Regions from separate parts of the Homo sapiens genome. Here region 1 is linked to region 2. Evidence: promoter capture Hi-C in 16 types of primary human blood cells and fetal thymus (Javierre and others, 2016). All regions are on one chromosome and are shown on one strand. Each heading gives the region's core, a stretch centred on a gene start or on the middle of the fragment in contact. The rest is flanking DNA. Distances are from core to core; before and after follow the strand shown.

Region 1 (6,898 bases), core at 1,428-3,927, 150 kb before region 2:
TCTGTGATGTGAAATGGAAACTGTATCAATAATTTGGTAGTGATAGAATACTAGCTATGGATAGAGCAAAAGCATATTTTAAAACTACAACCAAACACTGCAACAGAATATCAAGAAATATTTCTTAGACGCACACACAAGCAGAGTGTTATTAGACATTCAAATATTTGAAACATTTGAAATATCGGCATCTGAACAAGAAGAGAACCAAATGTGCTGCTCAGAGAAAAATCTCTCCACAATTTCTGGATTAATATGCAACTCAAAAGTCCAAAACTATCTGACAAAGCCTTCAAATATTTGCTCTTTTAATGACTTACAATTATGAATTAGCATTTTCTAATTTAGAAGAACATAAAAGGTAAGAAAAAGCCTGCATTTAAAACCTGACCTACAGTTCAGGGCATCCATCATCAAACCTGTTAAAAGTTAGAGAAACACATTAATGATAAGCCATAATGAGAGAATTTTACTAGGTGTCTCTGGGTATCACTAAATCACAACTGACTCCAACAAACCAAAAAAAGAGAGTTGCTCTCTCCCTGGGCACAAGTCATTGGAGTGGATTTTGTTACTCTACAGTTTTTATAAATAAGAAAAGTGTAATTCGGGTAAGTAAAATAAGCAAAGTCATAAGATTATACACACCAGAAGCATACCTAACTCACGTCTTCACAGTTCTAATTCAGACTCTTTGCTTCATACCATTCCTTCTCATAATCAGAGCCTGTAGTGTGCTTTTGATCTATTGCAAGGCTCTAGTTATTTAAACCATCAACTTAAAGGAATACTTATTCTAGAACTCTTACTGAGCTGATGGCTACCAACTAACTAAACTTCCTACACCACAACTAGGCATGGTTGTTCAGCTTACATTAAAAAAAAAAACAAAACCAACTTCCTGCTATCCTACCAAATTGTCTTCTTTCTGCCACCTAGAGAGAGCATTCAATACAGTCCAAAGCAAGGCATCTTTGAGTCCAGCGCTCTCTTTATTCTAATGGCACTCTATTCCTCCCTAGACCAAAGTACCAATTTTTTTCCCTACCCCACAACCTACACTCCCTCCCCAGTTCCAGACCTGGACACAAGATAAGGAGCATCCAAATACTGGATCTTTTTTTTAATACCTCTCCTTTTTTTTTTTTTTTTTTTAGAATTAGTTGAAATTTTATTAACATGTTGTCCATAATTAGTTCACGAAAATGAATGAATTTTACCTTGTGAACATTATTAAAATACTTTCCAAATGCAAATTATGATTTGCCCCAAAAATGCCCCAAACTTTATAAATGTCCTGTTAAGATGGATTACCTCTTCTTAAGCCTTAAACCAACATTGAAGTTTAAGTTGAACTGAGGGTTCATATTCATTCTATTTGCCAGCCTTCAAAAGTCAATAGAACTATTTCCACTAGATGGCTGTCTTTACCAAGAACTGTAAGAGCTATGCCAACTTGCAGCAGTTTTCAAGTTTTAAAGCTTACCTTTTACAGAGGCAAGCATATATGCAGCCATTTAATAGGCTCACTCCTACAAAATGTTCATGTATTACTTTATTTGTTCACCCCCGCATTGCAAAAAGTCAATATGATAAAAATGTAATGTGTTCTAGAAAATAATGAGAGAAATTTTATTTGTTTCAGGCTGAAAATTTTCTAAAACATGTAAGGAATTTTGCCCTGGAGACTGAAAGACATATATAAAAATTATCTCAGTGTAATTGTTTATATTGTCAGATCAAAAGTTACTTGTTGGTTATAAAAATTGTGTTCTTTAATATTTAAGAAAAGAGATTGGCTATCACTACTTATATTTGGAATTTGTTTCACACCTTTCTCTAGGTCATAAAGGTATTTTAAAGTTAAAATATGATACATTGAATAGAATTTGTTATAAGCTACAATTTCTACTGTATCAAGGAAATTGTTTCTTCCACTCACATGTTTTGTTATTTCCTTAGTATTTGATTCCTTGTTATTTGATTAGTACAAAAATTCAGCACCAAGTGCAGAGAGGATTGGTTGGGTGGTTGGTTGTTTTTCAGTAAACTTTTTATTGAGGTATAACAAAACTAAAGAAAAGTGCACAAATTGTAAGCATATAGCTTGACTGATGTTCGCAAAGTGAAATTAACATAAACGTTTTTGTGCAATTGTATATTTTACCTTTTTAAATTTTATTTGCTATTTGTTTAGTTACATCCAAATAACCAGCACCTAGATCAAGAACTAGAACACTACCAGCCGCCCAGACGTTCCTAATCACCTCACCGAAGTGGTGACCATTATTCTGACATCTAATACCACAGAGATGGCTTTCGCCTGTTTTGAAGTTTATATGACTCATCCCACTTGTTTGGCTTTTCATTGTGTTGATGAGAATCATCTACTTTGTTTTCACTGCTATGCATCACAACTTACTTATTCATGATCATTTGTGTGGTGTCCAGTTTGGAGCTATTATGAATAGTGCTGTTATGAAGTTTCTATATATACACTGAATCAATATGTGTATGCATTTCTTTGAGTGAGCATATACTTAGAAGTGGAATTGCTGAGTCATGACATTTGCATATGTTCAGCTTTAGTAAATACTGCCAATTTTCTGAAGTAGTTGTACCAATCCACACTCCCACAAGCAGGATACGAACTCCACTATTCCATTTCCTCCTCAGCACTTGGTATTGTCAGTCCTTTAAACAGTAGCCATTCTGGTGGGTATATAGTGATATCTCATTATAGTTTTAAATTGCTTTTCCCTGAAAACTAATGAAATTGTTTATATGCTTATTGGTTAAGAATGTTCCAATCTTTTCTTCATTTTGTATAATATTTTCAGGCTAGGTACAATGGCTCATGCCTGTAATCCCAACACTTTGGGAGACCAAGCTGAGAGGATTGCTTGAGCTCAGGAGTTTGAGGCTGAAGTGAGCTATAATTGCACCACTTCCCTCCAGCCTGGGCCATAGGGCAAGACCCTGTTTCCAAAAAAAAACACATATTTTCTATCTTTTCTTTATTAATTTGTGTGAGTCAGTGGTAAGATATAAATATATTATAATTATCTTCTACTCTGGGGCTTGACCAGTTATGGTCTTAACATTATCTTTGATGAGTAAAGTTCAGTTTATTAATTTTATCTTTTATGGTTAGCACATTCTTTAGGTCCTCTTTTTAAAATCTTTGCCCAGATAGTCATCAGACTATCCAAAGTCAGTGTGAAGGAACAAATTCTAAAAGCAGCAAGAGAGAGGCAACTAATCACCTATAAAGAAAATCCTGGCTGGGTGAGGTGGCTCACACCTGTAATCCCAACACTTTGGGAGGCAGACGCAGGCGGAGGCAGGTGGATCACCTGAGGTCAGGAGTTCGAGAGCAGCCTGGCCAACATGGTGAAACTCCATCTCTACTAAAAATACAAAAATTAGCCAGGCATGGTGGTGCGGCCTGTAATCCTAGCTACTAGGGAGGCTGAGGCAGGAGAATTACTTGAACTCAGGAGGTGAAGGTTGCAGTGAGCCGAGATCACACCACTGCAGTCTGGGCTACAGAGCAAGACTCCATCTCAAAAAAAAAAAGAAAATCTCATCAGACTAGCAACTTCTCAGCAGAAATCTTATAAGCTAGAAGAGATTAGGGTCCTATTTTCAGTTCTCTTAAAGAAAAGAACTGCTGGCAATTAGCCAGGCATGGTGGTGTGCACCCATAATCCCAGCTACTTGAGAGGCTGAGGCAGGAGACTTGCTTGAGCCCAGGAGGCGGAGATTGCAGTGAGCCAAGATCACACCACTGCACTCCAGCCTGGGCGACAGAGTAAGACTCCATCTCCAAAAAAAGGAACTGCTGGCCAAGAATTTTTTATCCTACTAAACTAAGCTTTATAAATAAAGAATAACTAAAGTATTTCCCAGACAAGTCAATGCTAAGGAAATCCATCAACACTAGACCAGTTGTACAAAAAATGTTCAAAGGAGTTCTAAACATGGAAATGAAAAGGCAATACTCATCATCATAAAAGCACACAAACGTATAAAGCTCACAGGTCTTATAAAGCAATTTCACAATTGAGACTACAAAGCAACTAGGTAACAATTAACATCATAATGGGAAAAAAATTCATATATCAATATTAACCTTGAATGTAAATGGACTAAATGCTCCACTTAAAAGACATACACTGGAAGAGTGGATAAAAAATAAAATCCAACCAAATACTGCTTACAAGAAACCCACCTAATGGGTAAAGATATTTACAAACTCAAAGTAAAGGAGTGGAAAAAGACATTCCACACAAACAGAAAACAAAGAAAGCAGTAGTGGCTATACTCACATCAGATAAAACAGACTTTAAACCAACAACAGGAAAAAAAGACAAAGAAGGTCATTATAAAATGATAAAAGAATTCAACAAGAAAATGTAACAATTCTAAATATATATGCACCCAACACCAAAGTACCTAGATTCATAAAACAAATACTACTAGACATAAGAAAAGAGATAGACAGCAATACAATAATAATGGGGAATTTCAACACCCCACTGACAGCACTGACAAGGAAGTTTGTAGCTTGCCTACATCAAAAAGACAGGAAGATCTCAAATTAACAACCAAATGTTGCAACTCAAGGAACTAGAAAAACAAGAACAAACCACACCGAAATCTAGCCTAAGAAAAGAAATAACAAAGATCAGAGAAATTGAGATCAAAAAAAGAAACAAAGGATCAACAAAAAGTTGGTTATTTGAAAAGGTAAACAGGCTGATATACTCCTTGCTAGGTTAATCAAGAAAAAAATAGAGAAGATTCAAATAAGCACAATCAGAAATTATAAAGGAGACATTACAATGGACAATACAGAAATACAGAAGATCATCAGAGACTATTATTAGCACCCCTATGTGCACAAACTAGAAAACCTAGAGAAAACAGACAAATTCCTGTAAACATACAACTTCTCAAGATTGAACCAGGAAGACATAGAAATCTTGAGCAGACAAATGGCAAGTAGTTAAACTGAATCAGTAATTTTTTAAAAATCTCCTGACAACAATAACAAAAATCCAGGACAAGAGGGATTCACAGCCAAATTTTGCCAGATGTACAAAGAAGTAGTACCAATCCTACTGAAACTGTTCCAAATGCTGAGGAGGGAATCCTCCCTTACTCATTCTACAAAGCCAGTATCACCCTGATAACAAAGCCAGGCAAGGACACAACAAAAAAAGAAAACTATAGGCCAATATCCCTGATAAACATAGACGCAAAATCCTCAACAAAATACTAGCAAACCAACAGCACATCAAAAAGAACATCATGATGGGTTTTATTCCAAGGATGCAAGGATGGTTCAACATACACAAATCAATAAATGGGATACACCACACTAACAGAATTAAAAACAAAAATCACATGATCATCTCAACAGATGCAGAAAAAGCATTTGATAAAATTCATTATTTCTTCATGATAAAAGCCCTCAACAAACTAGGCATCAAAGGAACATATATCAAAATAATAAAAGCCGTATATGACAAACCCACAGCCAACATCACACTGAATATAGAAAAGCTAAAAGCATTCTCCCTAAGAACTGGAACAAGACAAGGATGCCCACTTTTACCACTCCTATTCAACATGGTAGTGGAATCCTACCTACGGAAAGAAATAAAAGGCATCCAAATTAGAAAGAGGAAGTCAAAGTATCTCTGTTCACTGATGATATGATCTTATCTCTAGAAAAATCCTAACACTCCTCCAAAGAGTTTTAAATTTGATTAATGACTTCAGTCAAATTTCAGGATACAAAATCAAGATACAAAAATCAGCAGCATGTCTATCCACCAATAAAATCAAGCTGAGAACCAAATTAAGAACTCAATCCCTTTTACAGTAGCTAGAAAAATAAAATAAAATACCTAGAAATACATTTAACCAAGGGGGTAAAAGATCTTTATGAGAAGAACTACAAAACACTGATGAAAGAAATTGTAGGTGACACAAACAAATGGAAAAACATCCCATGCTTGTGAATTGGAAAAATCAATATTGTTAAAATGATCATACTATCCAAAACAATCTACATATTAAATGCAATTCCTATCAAATTACCAATGTCATTTGTCATGGAATTAGGGGAAAAAAAATCCTAAAATTCCAATGGAATGCAAAAAGAGCCTGAATAGCCAAAGAAATCCTAAGCAAAGAGAACAAAGCTAGAATAAAGCATCACCTTACCTGACTTGAAATTATACTACGACGCTATATTAACCAAAACACCATGACACTGGTATAAAATAGACACATAGATCAATGGAACAGAACAGAGACCAGGAATAAACGACATCTACAACAGACAAAGTCAACAAAAACATGCACTGCGAAAAAGACACACTTTTCAATAAATGATTCTGGGAACATTGAATAACCATATGCAGAAGAAGGAAACTGGACTCATATCTCTCACCATATGTAAAAATTAACTCAAGATAGATTAAAGACTTAAATATAAGACCTGAAACTATAAAAATCCTAGAAGAACACCTCAGAAAAACTCTTCTAAATGTTGGCCTAGGCAAAGAATTTCTGACTGTCATCAAAAACAAATACAACAAAAACAGATATAGACACATGGGACTTAATTGAACTAAAAGCTTCCATATAGCAAAAGAAATAATTAACAGAGTAAACAGGCAACCTACACAATGGGAAAAAAAATGTTTGTAAACTATGCATCTGACGAAGGGCTAATATCTAGAATCTACAAGGAAATCAAACTCAACAAGAAAAAAATAGATAACCCCATTAAAAATGGGCAAAAGACATGAACAGATATTTTTCAAAAGAAGATTTACAAGCAGCCCACAAACAGGTAAAAAAGCTCAACATCACTAGTCAT
Region 2 (6,382 bases), core at 1,045-3,544:
AAAAAGTAGCACTTCTAGTGGCACACCCCTGTAGTCCTGGCTACTCCGGAGGCTGAGGCAGAGGATCACTTGAGACTGGAATGTCGAGGCCGCAGTGAGCCATAATTGCACCACTGCTCCAGTCTGGATGACACAAGACCCTGTCTCAAAAATAAAAATAAAGTAGCACTTCTAAGCCAAGTGCAGCTGTGCATGCTTGTAGTCCCAGCTACTCCTACTCCTAGCTATTCTGGAGGCTAAGATGTGAGGATCCCTTGAGGCCAGGAGTTGGAGACTGCAGTGCCTATTATTACACCTGTGACTAGCCACCGCACTCCAGCCTGGGCAAGCCAGACCCTGTCAGGGAAAAAAAAAAAAAAAGGTAGCTCTTCTAAAAGAATGGAAAGGAAATCATTCTGCAAAACTTTCCTTGGAGCCAGTTTTGACCTGTGAGGCTTCTGTCCCTATAGAGGTTATCTATGACACCCACCACGCCGCATCCAAGTTTATACCAATTCAGAAACGGAAAAAAAGTCTGCAGTCTTGTTAGCTGATTAAGTGAGAAGACATTGATTCAACCTGGCTCAGGTTGGCAATTGCTCATGGCTGCATTTAATAGAAATGTTAAACAATAAACATTGCATCCCCCTCCCCACATGGGACTCACATCACTTTAGTCACTCTATCTCCCCCTTATTCTCAGCCTCCCTCTGCATCGATTTCTCTCCCCAGTCTCCAGTTTTTGCACATTTAAAGTACGCCTATTTCTGTTTCCATTATTTTTCCTGCTCTTAATCAGGACTGAGACTTTTCAAAATTTTTAACTTCTCTGCTATCCCAGAGATTCTCCATACCCCTTACACTCTCATCCCAAGCATCTCACCCTTACCCTTGCCCCCACCCCCATTCGAGAACCTGGACTTCTCCCCAATCTCTATCACAGTACCCCCCGGTCTAAGACGCCCTTAGCTTTCCCTTCCCCACGCCTCCCCCATCAACCCTCCCTAAGCCGGCAGGCAGTCTCAGCCGTTCCAGAAATTGACAAAGAAGTTGCAGAGGGAGTGCCACTTCTCAGCGCAGTAGGTCTCCGTGAGCTCCGCGTTCCCGTCCAGCCCGTCGGGGTCGGGCCCGGTCCCCATGGGTCGCTCCTCGTTGGGGACCAAGGCCGCCTTCCTCTTGCCCTCGTTGGTCTTCCTCTCTGAGGGGTTTTCTTTGGGCGGTGCGCTTTGGGGAGGCGGGGTCCCAGCGGCTGGGCCGGACGCACGCTCCCGGGTCCGCCCCCGGTTCCGGGCCCGGGGCTTGGACTCCCCCGCGAATCCCGCGACGGTGGGGCGTGCGGGCGGGGACGCGCGGGGCACTAGCCGCAGCTCGGCGCCGTGGCCCTTCTTGCCCGCGCACAAGCGGGCCTGGAGCGGCGCGGGGTCGTGACAGGGCCTCCGCTTCTTGCGCAGCCCTCCCAGCACCTGCTTCCAGAAGTGCGCGCGGCGAGCGGCGTAGGCTGCGCAGCGCTCCGGATGCCCGCGGTAGGCGCACTGGTGGCGCGCCCCGTCCGGGCTCTGGCAGCGCAGCGCCAGCTCGCTGCCCGCTGCGGCCTCCGGGGCGGGCAGCAGGAGCTGCCAGCTGCACGCGTGCTGCTCGGGGCTGAGGAAGCGACCCGAGGAGCCGCCAGTGGGCCCGGGGACCGGCTCCGCCACGTTGCTAGCCGCCCCTTTCTCCCTCCGAGCAGCCGCGAGGAGGCAACCACTCAGCAGCAGCAGCAGCGACGGCGACAGCGACGCTCGCAGCTTCGGAGGAGTCATGCTCCGCGGTTTCCGCGCTCCGCTGTTCTCAGACCACGTTTGTCGGGGCTGGACCAGGCAAAGAGCATTCCCCAGGACCTGCGGACAGAGGCAGAGACTGCCACCAACTGAGCCACACGCAGCGCTTCGCCCAGACACATGCACCTGCGAACTACTCTTCCGCAGACTTTCTAGAATCTGCAGCCTGCGAGGAGACCCTCTGAGGAGCTTTCCTGGGGAAACTGCTTACTGTCTAAATAATCACTTTCGAACCATGTATGCATTGAGATTTTCTTCCCCTTGCAAATACGATAGCAAAACGATGCGTGATAATTGCCCCCTCTACCCCTTCCTTCATTTTCTCCCTTCTCCAACCTGCAATAAACTATCTACAAAATCATTTCAGATGATTCCTTGGAAACATGCACTTTACTACACTTTGAACTTACCGAGTTCTGGGAGAGGCGCCAAAGCCTTATTAGGGTAGAGGGAACGACTGCACGGGGGAGTAGTCTGTTTTAGCCGGCTCCCTGTGAATGAACGTGGTATCAATGGAACAGAAGAGGCCTACCCTTCTTCGCCCCTCCCCGATTTCTCTCACACTGGGAGACTTATCACCGCCGCGCTTCTCTCTCTCTCTCCCTCTCTCTCTCTGTCTCTCCAGATGGATGATGGAAGCGGTCCTGTAGTATGAAATACAAATCTTGTATTTTGCTTCCAATGTTTAAAATAATCAGGCAAAATTAACCAAGTTTTTCTTCTTTCATGTACTTAACCATCCAAAAAATAAAAATTAAACAAAAGATCTAAGTTTTAAAAGTTAAATAAAATGAAACAAAACAAACTTCAGTATTCTAAACTAGGCATTTTTTACACAATTATATCATTTACATTCTATTTCTCATATTCTGAGTTCTACATTTTTACCTATTATTTCCAATAGCCTTTCTTAAGACTCTCAATCTTAATAATTGTTACTACTAATAAAAATATAATATCCTAGTTTATTAACATACAATAGTGCCCAGCAGTTCACCCAGGAGTGGACATTTGGGCTTTTTATTATTTTTAGGTATTAGAAATCAGTTATAAGGGTCCTCCAAAAATTAGAAGTTTAAAAAAATTATTTGTATTATAGTAGTTGAACGGTAAGATTACCAATTGAAATGGTATAATAGTTAAGAATGTGAGACCAGCCTGGCCTGGTGAAATCCCGTCTCTACTAAAAATACAAAAATTAGCCAGGCGTGGTGGCAGATGCCTGTAATCCCAGCTACTCAGGAGGCTGAGGCAGGAGAATCACTTGAACCCGGGACAGGGCGAGACTGCCTCTCAAAAAAAAAAAAAAAGAGAGAGAGAATGAATGTGTTCTTGAATCTTGAAAATGTTACATTTAAGCAAAGCTGCTTTTTCTGGAGGGGGGGATTGTGTGTGTGTGCGGGGGTTTGTTTGTTTGTTTGTTTGTTTGTTTGTTTTGAGACGGGAGCTCACTCTGTCACCCAGGCTGGAGCGCAGTGGTGCTATCTCGGCTCACTGCAACCTCTGCCTTCCCGGTTCAAGCGATTCACCTGCCTCAGCCTCCCCAGTAGCTGGAATTACAGGTGCCTGCCACAACACCCAGCTAATTTTTAGTGGAGAAGGGGTTTCACCATGTTGCCCAGTCTGGTATCGAACTCCTGACCTGAGATGAGCCACCTGCCTCAGCCTCTCAAAGTGCTGACCAAGCAAAGCTGTTTTTTCTTTCTTTTTTTTTTTTTTTGCTCTTTTTAAAATTTTTATTTAGAAGCCTACTTGTAGAAGTTAGCATAATTTTACAGATTATTAGAAAAATTCAATTATTTTCTCTCTGCAAACAGTTATAATAGGTTAGGAATAATAGATTAGAAATGTACTACATTGCAAAAACAGTGGCCTATAACTATCTGTACATTTACTGTGCACCTTAAGGAAAAGAATTTGACAGTGTGCTATACTTACACTGCAGGTAACATATTTTTATTCTATCACACAAAACTGACCAGTGGTAGTGCTTGAATTTATAAATGGCCATTAAACAGAATATTTAAACTGAGATGTATATTTAGCATGCTAAAAAGTGAAAAAAATTTCAACTGAAGTTCTGTGGCTCATCAGTTCAAATGTTTCATGGCATTTTTTTCTTTAAACGAAAAATTTTGATATTGTAAAACAAATAATTTTACATAATAAATGCAAAAGTATAAAATTTTCTAAATTTTTAGAAAGAATATTTCCATTCATTTTGTCATGGGTTTTGTGTGGCTCCTCTTAATATATTAATGATATTAATAAGACACTGGTCCTATACCACTTTCAGAGTCCATCTTCAATTAAAAACTGTAACAAAAATAAACAGTATGTAGAGTAACACAAAGTAAATTAAATATACTAAACTCACACAACAGGTAGAATAAAATGAAACCAAATTACATAATGGCAGGTTATACATTTTAAAGACTCTCTTTCCACTTAGTCAAATAAGAAAGACATTGAAATGTTAACTTACTGATTTCTGTGGGGTTTTCCCCACTGGTTCAAATGCGAAAGTTTGATATAAATCTAATATTTTATTTCTGTACATTTAACATGATTCAGTATAATCTGCAGTCTCATGTATAGCTTGTCAATAATGCCATCATCACTGTATGTCAAACAAAAAACCTCACTGCTTACTAGAAATGCTAAACACTGGAAAAAATGGAATTTTATACATTTGTTTTCTTAAATTTTGACAGATGTTCTTCAAAAAATTAAAACTGCCTTCCACAAAATTTTGTGTGTATATGGCACAAGTTGACAGCCAAAAAGTGTGAATTCCATCAAAAAGGCACTGTTAACAATACTCAGAATAATCTGACAAGGTCTACATCAATGTCTGAGTAAAGAATAGGTAAATAGACAAACCCTTATAAAAGACAGCATTATTGTTTAAATATACTATAGCTATATAAAAAGAAATAAAGTGACACACAGAAATGACCCTTAGCAAAGCTGTTTTAAAACTTCAGAATATTCCATCATCTTTTAAAAATGTTCTCATTAATAAATGTGATTTTTTTTAATTGCAGAAGTTTATACCTCTGACTGTAATTTTTTTACACAAGTAAATATTTTACTTAAATACTTCCTCAAGATATCAGGAATTCTTATTATATTTCCTAATGTCCTCTTGCATATAGCATTTTCTATTACTGAACTCCTGTTAGTATTATATTTGAACAATTATAGTTTGGTTACTACTATAAAAACCAAAATACTTTAGAATTAGAAGAATATGTTTAAATATATAGTAGTATATATTAAATATATAGCAATGTATATTGACTTCAGAAAGGAAGTTTTTAACACTCTGGTAAAATCAGAGAAACTAGATAACTTGTCCAGGTTCACACATCATTTAGTGATAAAACCACTTACATCTTTCAGTGATCAGTGATCTTTATGTTTTGTCTTTGTATTTTACTATTAGTTATGTTTTAATTATACCAATTCAGGCTGGGCATGGTGGCTCACATCTGTAATCCCAGCACTTTGGGAAGCCAAGGCGGGTGGATCACCTGAGGTCAGGAGTTCGAGACCAGCCTGGCCAACATGGCAAAACCCCATCTCTACTAAAAATACAAAAAGTAGCTGGGCATGGTAGTGCACGCCTGTAATCCCAGCTACTCGGGAGGCTGAGGCAGGAGAATCACTTGAATCCGGGAGGCAGAGATTGCAGTGAGCCGAGGTCACACCACTGCACTCCAGCCTGGGCAACAGAGCAAGACTCTTTCTCAAAAAAACAAAAAACATAAAAATAAAAAAAAAAATTACACCAATTCAACTTATAATGAAAACCAATTTGTACCTATGAAGATTAGAAACATTAACAAGTTTCAAAAATAAGAGTAGCTAATTAATACATTTCACACTTGGAAGCCCTTTCTTTCCCAGAAAACTGTCTTTGTATATGTGAAGCATGGATGAGTAATCCCAGGCTTTTGTCTGTTGCCTTGGCATTACTTTTTGTTAACAACTACTGAACCGAATTGGTACCATTTTTAATGAAAGAATGACATCTTGTGGCATAATGCTCTAATTGCAATAAAAAAATTTATTATCTGAAAGCTGTAATTAAGAGATACTCCAGAGACCATGCTTCGCTGTCACAAACACTGTTCCCAGAGTAAAAAGTAAGGGCACATAGACATATTATGCAATATCAGAAAAGGGGAGTTATTTTTTAAAAAACTGTGGCATAATATGCATAACATAAAATTTGTTGTTTTAACTATTTTTAGGTGTACTCTTCAGTGACATTAAAAAGATTCACACTGTTCTGCAACCATTATAGCTATCCATCTCCAGAACTTTCTTTCGTCCTCCAAAACTGAAACTCTGTACCCATTCCTCCCTTCCCCCAGCCCCTGGCAACCATCATTCTACTTTCTGTCTCTGTGAATTTGACCACTCTAGATATCTTATGGTAAGTGTAATCCTACAGTATTTGTCCTTTGTGATTGGCTTATTTCACTTAACACAATGTCTTCAAGGTTTATCTGTGTTATAGCATGTATCTGAATTTATTTCATTTTTAAGTCTGAATAATATTCCATTGTATGTATATA

What was found. The method cuts DNA at HindIII sites, captures the fragments that hold promoters and counts their contacts. A CHiCAGO score of 5 or more calls a contact.
Region 1: a fragment that was not itself captured here is called in contact with the fragment with the promoter of FGFBP3 in region 2 in 2 of 17 cell types (activated CD4 T cells and total CD4 T cells); the score reaches 5.6 in activated CD4 T cells.

Annotation. Positions count from the first base shown.
Region 1 is chr10:91,757,335-91,764,232 of GRCh38, forward strand. No RefSeq gene overlaps it. Among named protein-coding and RNA genes, the nearest start is that of TNKS2-DT, 38 kb to the right of the region's middle. The HindIII fragment of the contact is 2,396 bases long and covers 1,480-3,875 here.
Region 2 is chr10:91,907,192-91,913,573 of GRCh38, forward strand. It overlaps FGFBP3 (fibroblast growth factor binding protein 3), which reads right to left and starts at 2,295. Exons shown (of 2, transcript NM_152429.5): 1 at 2,207-2,295; 2 at 1-1,856. The coding sequence starts at 1,778. The coding sequence ends at 1,002. FGFBP3-AS1 (FGFBP3 antisense RNA 1) reads left to right here and starts at 938. Exons shown (of 2, transcript NR_199602.1): 1 at 938-1,058; 2 at 1,706-2,157. RefSeq lists a silencer at 1,168-1,737 and an enhancer at 1,641-1,935. The HindIII fragment of the contact is 14,773 bases long and covers 1-6,382 here.